Regions from separate parts of the Homo sapiens genome. Here region 1 is linked to region 2. The links are contacts of gene promoters, found by promoter capture Hi-C in human tissues and cell types (Jung and others, 2019). All regions are on one chromosome and are shown on one strand. Each heading gives the region's core, a stretch centred on a gene start or on the middle of the fragment in contact. The rest is flanking DNA. Distances are from core to core; before and after follow the strand shown.

Region 1 (6,590 bases), core at 2,450-4,949, 130 kb after region 2:
GATATTTACAAAACTGAGGAATATTTTTGACACTTATTGTTTCTGTCCAATTTGTTAAAATAATATTTTGTTGATTTTATGTGTTCTTCTATTTTCCATTTCTTCTATTTTTTTTTAACTTTAGAAACATACCATACTCTAGGAAGAACTTAGGAAGGCAAACATGTTATAAAGAAATTTTTGTTTGTTTTGAAAGTGTTTAATGGAAATTTTAGAGAAAAAAATGAGAAATTTAGTCACCTAAACGATGTATAATGAAGAAAGAAATTAGACAAATAAAAGAAAGTTGGGGAGTCTAAGGGTAATCCTGACAACTAGTATCTCATGAAAAAAAGAGACAAGAAACTCAAGGAGTTTCATGAAGTGGAAAGGTTTTTGTGCTTCTTCCATATACATTGTGTGTGTGTGTGTGTGTGTGTGTGTGTGTGTGTGTGTTTTCAGATACATATAAATATAATACAAATGGAATATTCAGTGTCGAATTGCATGTTTAAATGGTGGACTTTTTACGACATTCAAATAAATTTGTCCCGGTTGATTAGATTTGAGGCCCACTAGAATAACTAATTACTAAGCATCATAATTCAAGTTCATCATAAAGCATATGTTCACTTGTTTTACAGTAAATATCAATTCATGAAAGGAAGAAAAGTCTTAAAAATAAAAATCAGTTAACCCAAGTTATTTCAAGTCATAAATTTAAATACCTACTAGATTCTTCAGTGAACGCTGAAGAGCAGTTATTTTTATGGTTTTGTACCTTATGTAAACCTGGCGACATATATTTGACTTGAAACGTGTAGCACTTTTTAACAGATCTCATAAGCTACCTATTAGATAACCAGATGCATAATAAGACAGGCAAGCAGCATTATACACAATTCTCTTAAGACAAAATTAAAAATGCAAAAAAACCACATACATTATATAACAATAAGAATTATAAATAAGAATATAATAAGTACGTAATAAGTATGCTTAGCCCTTTTTCCTAAAACAAGAGGACTTACATTTTTAAAAGGTATTTGGCTTTATTTTCTAAGTGAAATTTGAATGTTCAAAAAGAAGTTCTGCTCAATAGTAATGGCAGAAATAAGATCATAGAATGTAACCTTGGGTGTAAAACTTGTGTAACACTTATATTTTACAGATGGGGAGAGCAAGCTTGATGACCTATAGAAACTTATACCTGCCACGAGCATCACCTGTAAATGATTACGATGTACTATACCACTCTTTGGAGTAAAAGTTGAAAAAAATCATCCACTGATAAAGTCACTTATAAAGTCACCATAGATTATTGACTGGTGTTTCCAAAAGGAAAATGAGATCGGTTTTTGTTAGAAGATTATTGTATCAGCTACATCATTTAAATTCACTTTGAAAGATACCCAGCCATTATAATCAGGTGACTATGGGGACAGCATATATTATTACTAAAAGCAAGAAATCATTCTTCATTTAGAAGGCCCAATCAACACCAAAGAAGCATGATTCTCACAAATTATTGCCTATTGAAACAATAATAAATAGATTCAAAGGAAACAATACAGAGGGAAAAATAATGCCTCACATGGTCATTATGAAAGTTACAAATTGAATACTGGAGTGAAGGTCAAGTAAATGTTAAAAAGTTAGTGCACAAACACAATCACCATGCTAAGTGAGCTGCAGGTAAAACTGACTTTCTAATTTGGAGGATTAGTACAATCAAAAGGGTCAAATAAGTTGTACATGATGCCATAATCTTGATGTTCATCGCTTAAATCTTTATTGAGATTAGGTTGCCATTTCTTTCAAGTCTTTTGTCATTAATATGGATTTTTTTTTGCCAAAGACTGAACCTTTTATAAAGCAAGAAAAGTATTAAAGAAAATTAATAAATAAATGAGTATTTCTCTACATCGTATAAAATCAATTTGTTTGATCATTTGCTTGGATTAATTTATTTTCAATGATACAGACTTAGTTTTAAAATAGCATTCCATGCTGCTCCTGAGTATTAGATACACATTTGCTTTACTTGTTTTAAATATTATGGTCTTTTAATATTTTCTACCACTAAGAATAAGAAAAAAAAAACTGTCCATACCAACAAAATACTCCCATAAAGAACCTGACTATGATATGCTCCTCAAATGAAAAAAATCCATCAGAAGAATAATGTCCTTTCAATAACTCCGTCACATCACATCTCACTCATTGAAAGCACCTTGTGAGTTTATTTCTTCCTTCCCATGGAAACCTCCTTTCACGTGGTATCTCTGAGGTCGAAATTCAGCAGCCTGGAAGACTCAATATGATGTGAAAGGTATCCAAGTTGAGATTTATTCTACAACAATTAAATACCAAACTAGTCATATTCCAAAATAGTTTGAGGAAAAAAATGTCATACTTTAAATATCCTGGCTCACAAACGATCAACACAGGTCCCAGGGATGGCACAAAGATGGTTCTAATTCAATGAATGCGGAATGTTAGTATCTTCTTAATGGATGTTGATCTGGTTACAGGGAATATGCACCTTACATGACCACAGAGAGGCCAGAATTTTATTTTTATCCTGTTTGCCAAGGTCTTTATCTCTACAGCCAAAATGAGAATGGTGATTTAAACAATTGAAGTCACAGTACTCACCCCAAAGCTTTTGTGGAAGCCTAGATTGTCAGTGACTGCAGCTATTAGGGAAATGAATTCAGCTGGGTAGAAAAAGCCACATGACTTGAGTTCAAATGTCACTCTCTGTTCTCTGTACAATAAAATTGTAAACCCTTAGAAGTGGGGCTGGTAAAGCCTACAGGCTTTACATCTCAAATAGCACATGAGCCCCTCGAACCCTTTAATATTCCCTTGATTCCAGGAAGGGAGGGCCTCTTGAATATTAACATGTTTGAATTTAGTATTCCTTTAATCAACTTGTGCCTGTAAGAGGTAATGTTTCCATTCTCAAAGCCTTGGCTTTTATCTGACCCCAACTGAGATCCCCATAAATTTACTCCATGACATGAGGTAATCCCTCAACTGTATTTCAAAAGATTGTTTTGCTTCACTAATTATACATGATGGCTTCTGACATTCTCTGTAAGAAGATATTTATGTAAACATCATGGTCTGTCCACCATTATTCAAAACCAACTTCTGTTAAAGGGTTAACCACTTAAGCTGAGTCCCTGGGATAGACACATCTCTTAACCTGGCAATAATAATCTTAAGAATAGTAAGTGTTTATGAATACTTATTATACGCCAGGAACTTTAGATGTTTTGATTCACTTAACACGATCCCCTATGAGGTAAGTATTGTTATTACCCTCATTTTATAGATGGCCTAGAGAGCTGAAGTAATGGAATGCCCGACGTCATCATGGCTATTAAGTAAGTGTGTGTGTTGAATCTGAATTTAGGTAAGCTGATTTCAGAGGCTATGCTTTTCCACTTCACTGAATTGCTGATTTATAGAGCTCGCCAGAAGGGGAAAAAGCAGACACCTCTTGATGGTGTTTTCTACAACACACTTAGATCACCTAAAGGCTTGGGGCATAATTTTTGTAGACATGGTTTATCTTTGTTGACTTCTTATCCATGTCCCTTTGATCTCCACCCTTTGCCCCTGCCACATCCATCCTGAAGAGGTCAGTCACTACGTGGCCTCTCTTGGGGGCTAGGTTTTATTACTGAGTCACTCCATCCATGTGAGTTTCTTCCCTTGACTCTGCATCTCTGGTTCCATGTGTGTTCCTCTGCTTTCTCCTTTTCCTCTCCCTTTTCCCTCCCAATATGTGGGTGGAAAGTATTCCAGAAGTAAATGGTAATAATGTACAGGATGGTTCTTTTCCCAAACCCTCAGGAAATGAATTTACAATTCTCACCATGACCACAAGTCTTAACCCTATGTGCTAGGCAAAGGTTTAATTCAGAGAATTTTAGTCACTTTAGAAAACTGGATAAATTGTTTGGGAGGTATAGTTAAAAAATAAATTAGATTTCAGTAGCACTCTTGTTACTTAACTAAGAGTGTGCTTATTTATATTCTGGGCTGAATCTGGTATGGAAGAAAATATAGACATTTGCTCTAACTTGGGCTCTGTGTCATTGACATTTATGACTTGTTTTTGTGAGGCTACTCAGTATCTAAGACTTGTTTCTGTTTAGGAGGAGACAGTACTGTGGCTCCCAATGCAGACCTTAAAGAGGACTAGATAATTCCTTTCATTGCTCCCAGTAGCGATGTCTTAGGCATTTGAATTAAGCTTGGCTAATCAACTGTCTCAACTGGTCTTGGATTTTTAGCAAAGTGACACAAAGACAAAAAACGGTATTCAGAATGTATCTAGAGCAGAGGTATCCAGAAGCAGAAAAAAATGGCAAGAGGAATGTCAGTAGTAGCAGTGCCCCACTCTAGTGGTGGCTAAAAAGAAAAATGGCAGTAATGACAAAAATAATATCCTAACAAGACTATTGCTGTGTCATTGATTTGGGTGCTATATTAGCTATATTGACAACCCTGGGTCGCATCCCACTTCTCAACCCAGTCTCCCAGATTTCCCACAGTTCGTCAAACTACCCATAGTCTCAGTAAAGTTTTTGCATGCTTATTAAATAGTCTGCCTGGTAGACAGGGCTTGTGTTTCAGTCTCTTCATACAGTACAGACTGTTGACATAAAAGTTCTAATAAATTACTGTACTTATATTTTCCATTTACTCTTTGCCTAGGAAGTAATCCAGGTGTTTCATATGAGCTGTTTAAATCTTTTGAGCAAACTATTTCCCTTATTATTTTAACATGAAAATAGAGCATATAAGGCATACAATTTAAAATGGGAACATATCAAGCTTAATAGCCATCTTGCATTGTAACCATGACTGATATAATAAAGTAATACATTTAGCTTTATGAATCTGTAATGATTTTCAATTCAAATGCATTAAAGTTGAGTAAATCTAGATTGCAAAGAAGAAGCTCATTATTGAGCAGGAGAGAAAGATAAGCAAACATCACATTATATGATAAAAGTGGTTGTGAGAAAAGAAAACGTGAAAAGAATACAGTTGAGGATAGGGTGTTTGTTCATTTTTCATGAACTATGATGTCAGAGTAGTTTTTGCACATTAAGACTTGCAAGATGAAAAGGTATTATGATGGGATGAAATAGAGACACCAGGTATTATAAAAGAATAAGTGCATTATAGTAATAATAATCATTATTATTATGGATATTGTCTACCATTTATTCTGCCTGGCCATTCTTTTGTACTTTGCAAATAATAGATCGTTTAGTCCTCACCACATTACAGGGAAAACAATGAGATTATTTTCAACTTGCGGATAACAAAAATGAGATTTAATGAGATAAAATAAATTTCCCAAGTTCAGAGAATTAATCCTCAGTCAAGTTAGTATTGGAATCCAAGCAGTTTGACTTGAACTTTGAGTTTCTAACTAGTAAGAATGGCACCTTAAGATGTAAGCAAAATAAAATTTGAGTTAGGAAAATCCTTAGTAGAGACTACTGTGATAAGAGATGAAAAAACATAAAATAAGAAAGAAGAATTGGTGATGCAGACAGTGTGCCATCTTTGAGAAAAATATAAATGTCAAGGTTAAGGGGAATTAGTAGCCAATAAGTGAGGAGAGGGACATAAATGGATAATTATTTTCACAAAAGTTTAATTTTGCAGCACTTGGTGGATCAAAATGCTGGAAAGGGGTTTGTAGAGAAGCAAAAAGGGTGCATGTGTGGGAAGAAGAATCTATTGGTTAGAATAAGTTTAAGCTCAGCTGTCTATGGAGACATGCATTTGGAAACATTCTTCTGGTAGATAAATATCAGAAGAAAGACCGGTTTGGGAGAGATGCCATATATGGCAAATAAAAATACAGGGTGCCCAGTTAAACTTGAGTTCTGAATAAATAATATTTTGTTTAGCATAAGCACGCTCTATATAATATTTTAGACATACCAAAAATGTTTCTATTACTTATCTGAAATTCTAACTTCATAATTTGTTCATTATTGTGTCTGGCATTCCTATAGACTGGGAATGTAGATTCGAGCACCACAACTTGCAGAGAAGTTGTCAACTACTGCTTAGAGTAAAGGAGGTTAGCTTTAAATAAACAAAGGCTAGACAGTGGGTTCTCTGGTAGAATACAAAGCTTTATCTTTTCCCTCTCATCTACTCTCTTTGCGTTATAACTTTGAAATGTTCTTTCACTCTGATTCCTGGCACAGTCATATAACATGGTGTTACCAGCCAAAAGGCAGAATTGATGATGTTCTGGTTCTGAGCATGAAAGTTCTTGCAAGAATCTAGTTTGCTCTCATACTCTTGCCATCTTCATGAGAACACAGTAAGTAGATCTAGCCTAATTTTAGAGTGAGAGATTGATGGAGCAAAGCCAATTCCCACTTTTACCCCAGTCAACAGTAAGTCAAACCCCAGTCATGTGAGCAAACAGCAAGGCTATCTTACTTCCCCCAGCCGTTGGATGGTTGAGCATGAACCATCTTATTATACAGCTTATCGTTGTATGTAACACAGCAGTATGATGGCAATAGAAAATGGAAACAAAGTCAATTATAATAGTG
Region 2 (6,283 bases), core at 3,784-6,283:
TAAGCACCCAATTAATAAGAGCTATTTTATGGCTCTTGACCCAGCACTGTACAGGCAAGAAGACATTCTTGATAGTCATTATGCTTTACTTCTAAGAGAAAAACATGTGGTTAAACTACCAATGTCTTGAGGTGTTCAGGATACCAATGTACAAATCCTACCATTCTTTTTAGGCAGGAAGAAGTCCCTTGGTCTATGAAGAATGCTCTGTAGCATGCATATACCCACCGGTATGTTTTGACATTGCTTAAAAATGAGTCCTGCATAGAATATCCTGGTTATGTCCCATACTGCTTACATTCTTTTCACATGGAATGAAATAATTTTCTTGGTCTCTGCCCTGGATTCAAATGCATTATAGACAATCATAAAAACAAACTGAAATTGAGGCCCAAGAGAAAAATATCAGACGAAGTATCAAATGATACCTAGCATATATTGTGCTCTTATTATGTGCCAAACAGTCCACTAAGCATTTAATTGGAATCATGCCATTTAGTTGTCATAATCATCCAATGACTTTAATATTATTATCTCCATTTTACAATAATGGAACCAAGTCTCAGAAATGTTAATTTGGGCCAGGTGCAGTGGCTCACGCCTGTAATCCCAGCATTTTTGAAGGCTGAGGCAGGTGGATCACTTGATGTCAGGAGTTTGAGACCAGCCTGCCCAGCATGATGAAACCCCATCTCTACAAGAAGTACAAATATTAGCCAGGTGTTGTGGCATGCACCTGTAATTCCAGCTACTTGGGAGGCTGAGGCATGAGAATCGCTTGAACCCGGGAGACAGAGTTTGCAGGGAGCTAACATTGCACTACTGCCCTCCAGCCTGGGCAGCAAAGTGAGACACTGACAAAAAAAAAAAAAAAAAAGAAAAAGAAAAAAAGAATGTTAATTCATCCCAGAGCACATAGCTTTTAATACACAGAATTTGGAATTGAGTAAGATCTAGTCATACTATAAGATTCATGTCCTTTTCCTTACACTAAATTTTCTACCAAGGTTTATATAATTATGGCATTCCATATTCCAATATCAAAAGTCTTTTTGTACCTGAGTCCACATAATTTCTTTCTATGAGGAGCTCTAATATGCTCCATGTTGAGTTAGATTAAATACTGGCTCCTTCTTCAGCTAGCTTCTCTTTCTAGCAGTGGTCAAGCTCAGCCTGGAAAGCTAATGTCTAGAATGATGAACAGAGTAGATGGGAAAGTGAAACTTAACATCACGTCCCTCTTTCCTGGCATTCCCCTGCTCCACAACACATACCACACATAGCCCGTTTTCGCCAAAGTCCTGTTTTCTCAGCAAGCTACACCCAGTAAAATAATATATACTTGGAAGGCACATGGAATGGGTAGGTTTTCCCTCTTGTCTTTAGAAACAGTGGTCCAAATGAATTGAGCTTTTTCTGGGCAACCCAGTTGGCATTGCAATAGTAAAAATCCTTATTGTGAATGAACTTGATCTATGTTCACATGATTGGCTGTGACTAGAATGCTGAGAAGCTGCCACGAGATAAATTCTGTCTTTACTGTTGCCAATGCTGTGTTACTGCCATCAGTGCTGTGGACAGAAGCTTTATGTCAATGTTGTTTGCTTCAGGGATGTTCTGCTATTGAGGCTGCCAAAGGCTCTGAGTACTATTGATGGTATTGAATAGTGTTTGGCCTCTCTCAGACTTCCGTCAATCCTATCCCTCTACAGAGCACCTGTGTATGTGGTGGTTTACAGATTTTAGGCTTAAGTCTTCCTCTTTGAGATGGCCTGTGTCTATCCCACTGTATTATTCAGGGCTACATAGAGAAACAGAACCAATAAAATAGATAGATAGATGATAGATGATAGATGATAGATAGATAGATAGATAGATAGATAGATAGATAGATAGACAGACTATATATAATATATATTTATCTCACTGTATATATGTGTGTGTATATATATGCATGTGTGTGTGTGTGTGTGTGTGTGTGTGTGTGTGTGTGTATGAAGAGAGAGAGAGAGTGAGTGATTTATCACGAAGGATTGGCTCACACAATTATGGAGGCTAAGAAATCTCATGATGTGTCACCTGCAACCTGGAAACTCAAGGAAACCAGTGATATAATTCCAGTCCAAATGTGAAGATCTGAGAACCAGGGGAGCCAATGGTATAAATCCAGTCCAAGGGCAGGAGAAACCCAATGTCTCTGCTCAAGTAGGCTTGCAGGAAACATAAACGGGCACATTTCTCCTTCCCCGACCATTTGTTTTATTTAGGCCCTCAATGGACTGAACGATTCCCATCCACATTGGAGAGGGCCATCTACTGAGCACACTGATTTAAATGCTTATCTCCCTTGAACACTCTCACAGACACACTCAGAAATAATGCTTAATCTGGGCAGCCCTTGGCTCAATCATGTTGATACATAGAATTACCATGGCACCCACCCTCAGAACTAACTGGTAAATTATCAGTAGCATTAGGTTTGCCATAGATTCAGAGATACTTGCCAATTTACTTCAACTAGACAGCGTTTAAGTTTCTTAATTTTCTCCCTTAGTAGATGATGCTGCCTGCATCTTCCAAAATACAAAACAGCTAATCTCTCTTTTGTTGGATGACTAGCTTTCCTAATCTCTCATGGATTTCTGGGTTTATTTACAAATCCCCACTACCTCCCCCATACCAAGTCTCTGAGCTAGCTGAGTTGCTAAATATGCTATATACATGGTAATTTTTTAAGCCTTACACTTTCAATTTATTAACTTATTAAGGCTCACAGTAGCCCTATTATTATCCTTCACTTTTGAAGTTGAAGAAACTGAGGTGGTTAAATAACTTGCACACAGTCACACAGTTGGAACTTAAACAGCCATCACTAAGCAAAGCTAAGATTCCAGCTCAAGGAAATCCATATTCAGAGTTCATGCTCTCAACCACTACCTTATTTTGCCCTGAAAAAATGTGAGATCCAAGGCCAGGCATGGTGGCTCACGCCTGTAATCCCAGCACTTTGGGAGGCCGAGGCAGGCGGATCACGAGGTCAGGAGATTGAGACCATCCTGGCTAATGTGGTGAAACCCGTTTCTACTACAAATACAAAAAATTAGCCGGGCATGGTGGCAGGCACCTGTAGTCCCAGCTACTCGGGAGTCTGAGGCAGGAGAATGGCGTGAACCCAGGAAGCAGAGCTTGCAGTGAGCCGAGATTGCGCCACTGCACTCCAGCCTGGGTGACATAGCGAGACTCCATCTCAAAAAAAAAAAAAAAAATTGAAAGATCAATTTAAGAACACACCAAAAGTTTCAGAATAGCTAAGCTACCTAAATAAAATTAATCAATTTCAAACATCTGACTCTATGGTCTTATGATGTTCATATGAGTATATTTTCCATCTTCTGTTGACTACCACCATGAGTTATTCTTTTCTGGTTCACACTATAAAAATTATAACAAGAGGATATGTTCTCTTTTCTTCTAAATATTTATACTATTTTCATTAGGTAACAAACGAAGAAACAAAAAGCCTGTAACATAACACCTGCAAAAGGATTGAATAAAAATAATAGTGTGACAAGTCCAAATTTTGCTTCCAAAGAAAGCAAATTTATTTAATACAAAGAATATTTTCCAAACTCAAAAAATACTTAAGAAATAATGAAAACAGGAAAAAAACAAACAACCAAAAAAACAACGGGAACGAAATGAAGTGAAGATTCTAAACTTCAATTCATTCTATTTAAAGGCTTCTGGTTGCTACGTGGTTATAAAGCCCATGGAGGTGAAATTCAAAATTACCTTGCTCTATTCGAACAATAGACTTAATCTTCTAGTTAATTTGAGAATGTTGTGATTCAATGGCTAAAATAACAGATGGCCAGTGAGTAGGCCTGGATTTTAGTTGTGGTTCTGATGTTATTAACTACTTGGGCAACCTCTGATAGAGTTGAACCTATCGTAATTCACAGGACTAGGTAGGCTTTTAGGTTTGGTTCCAATATTTTATGAATTTCTGAGACTAGTAGCACATTACTTAATAAACCAGATCCAATGCTAAGTATTTCCAAAGAAAACAACTTGCAGTTAAAGTGTGATGTTTCCTTTAAGTATTCATGTTATTTCCTGGCTACAGCTCTTATTGCTTAATAACAAATCGTATCCTACTGCTCTAAAATAGCTAGCATGCTTTCCAACCCCAGATTACCACTAGACATACCCAAAAGAAAAACAAGAAAAAAAATCTTGTCTTTGGAGACAGTAGTAAAATAAGACATGTTCATTTACTAACAAACACACACAACATTTTTTATTTAAAGAAATACAAAATATCTAAGTATCTCAAAAATAAATTCATCCAAATGAGAATATAAGCCATCTCCCCTACAGATCTTCACTTACTAGGCAATTGAGAACCACCAGTAACACAGCAAGTTGGTTCAACTCCTGGAGAAGATTCCAGGAGTTGTGGCTCAGGTGCAACATTGACCAGAGGTCTACAGGAACTGGATTCAGGGTTCTGAGACTGACACTGACATTGGCTAGATGCACGTTCCAGAGTTTCGAAATTTTTAGACTTAGAAGTCTTGGGTGGGCAACTGTTTCCCTTGAGGCTTGCAGGTTGGCAGCTCTGGGCTACAAAACCCATCTGCTGAGTGCTTTCTGATTGGCAAGGCTGAGAAACACAAGCCAGCCCTGCTGAAGAACTTTCTGATTGGCACGCTGTCCTTTCGCAGGGCCTGGAATTGGAGTAAGTAGTTTGGACAACTCCGGGGAAGCAGTTACTTTGCACACAGCTATCGTCTGTGAATAAGTCCTGTTCACAATTGGTCATTTGGCAGCTGGTGGTTTCATTGCAGGTTTCTTGAAAGTTGTCCAGGAAACAGGTTCTGCTATGGAAGCTGCTGGGCAAACACAATCTGTCTTCAAAGGTTATAGGATTAGTGCCATGTGTGATGGCAGAGAGTGGTGGGGCATTGTGGAAGCTCCTGAGTGAATGGCAGTGGCTATGAGGCATATTGCTAAAAATCCTTAAAGATGGTCATAAGGACTCAACATGCTGAGTTTGAAAATTAAATTCTTTGGTGCGGCGATTATATACTCAGAAACCTGGGTGTTGGCTTCTCAAGACTTCTTTGCAACTCATTGCTTAAACTAATTTGAAGGATAACATCTCATTACCACTTTGGTTATATATGCAGATGATGTCTTATTAACAAAGATGTAAGTCCATTTTGAATCTTCAAAATGGCTTTTATGTTAGCTCCAAAGATGACTCATTCAAGGTGGGGTTGGTCAAATAAGAGTCTAAACCTGTCCAACCAAGCTAACATTTTTTTTTTTTTTTGCCACCATGACTCTGCACATTGGTAAGTGGACAATGAGAAATGCATGAGGCAGTGGCCAACTGAATACTGATTAACATTTAGCACTGGTTTTGAGAGCTGCCAATGTAGCAGAATGTGGTAATTTGATGTTCAAGACATTTAAAGTTAGAATTGGATCCAGGTTGAGCCCAATCTCATTCCACTCAGATATTGTTCTCTCCAGTGGACCAGAATGTGAGAGGACTTTGTGATCACATTCCTTCTCAGTGTTCATGCAAAGTACTGAGTGTGGCCATTGCCCAATAAATACTTGTCTTTTGCCTAACATTTCGTTTCCCTAATCTCCTTGAAAGCCAAGTTTAAATGCGTCCTTTTCCTGAAGTCTTCCCCAATCTTCCCATTTAGGAGTTATTTCTTCCTTTTCTGAATTACTAATGGATTTAATTCCTTTTTTCTATACTTGACAAAGTGGTGTGTTTACTTGTGTTTGTGCTTCTCAAAGGTTGATTATTTTCCTTTATAATGAACCTTCTTCAGATATTTTTCATCTTTATTCTGTGCTTTTTTTATTGACTGCAGACAGATGATCAGTTCCTATGTTTATCGCATTAGGACACCGTTCTTAGCATAGTTTCATACTCATGGCACAGAGCCAACCAGCACAATTTCTATAACATATTCTATAATATATTTGGCTCAGCTAATGACAATAAAATAGAAGTATAGTCTTAGTGCACTAACTAGACTCCCTTTCTAAGGTCTGAAGAAGCCCAAGAACATTCAGCAATTCTCAGTAATTCTTATGCAAACACTTCCTTGAAAGACTGAGGATATTATAAATTTAAAAGGGCACATCTGAATACTTTCAGCTTTATAGGCTGCACACTCATCTTGTATACAATACCTTTGTAACACACGCAAGTCATTTATAATTTTGAATAACCACACTTGTATGTTTAAAGATC

The links. Contacts are between HindIII fragments. The study calls those that stand out against the background at their distance.
Region 1: a fragment that was not itself captured here is called in contact with the fragment with the promoter of KRTAP27-1 in region 2 in 5 of the 25 tissues and cell types used here (H1 embryonic stem cells, liver, mesendoderm cells and 2 more).

Annotation. Positions count from the first base shown.
Region 1 is chr21:30,466,085-30,472,674 of GRCh38, forward strand. The region is part of intron 3 of LOC105372772 (a long non-coding RNA gene); the gene reads right to left. Among named protein-coding and RNA genes, the nearest start is that of KRTAP19-1, 11 kb to the right of the region's middle. The HindIII fragment of the contact is 3,591 bases long and covers 1,905-5,495 here.
Region 2 is chr21:30,332,661-30,338,943 of GRCh38, forward strand. KRTAP27-1 (keratin associated protein 27-1) reads right to left here and starts at 5,034. Exons shown (of 1, transcript NM_001077711.1): 1 at 4,353-5,034. The coding sequence starts at 5,008. The coding sequence ends at 4,385. The HindIII fragment of the contact is 14,979 bases long and covers 1-6,283 here.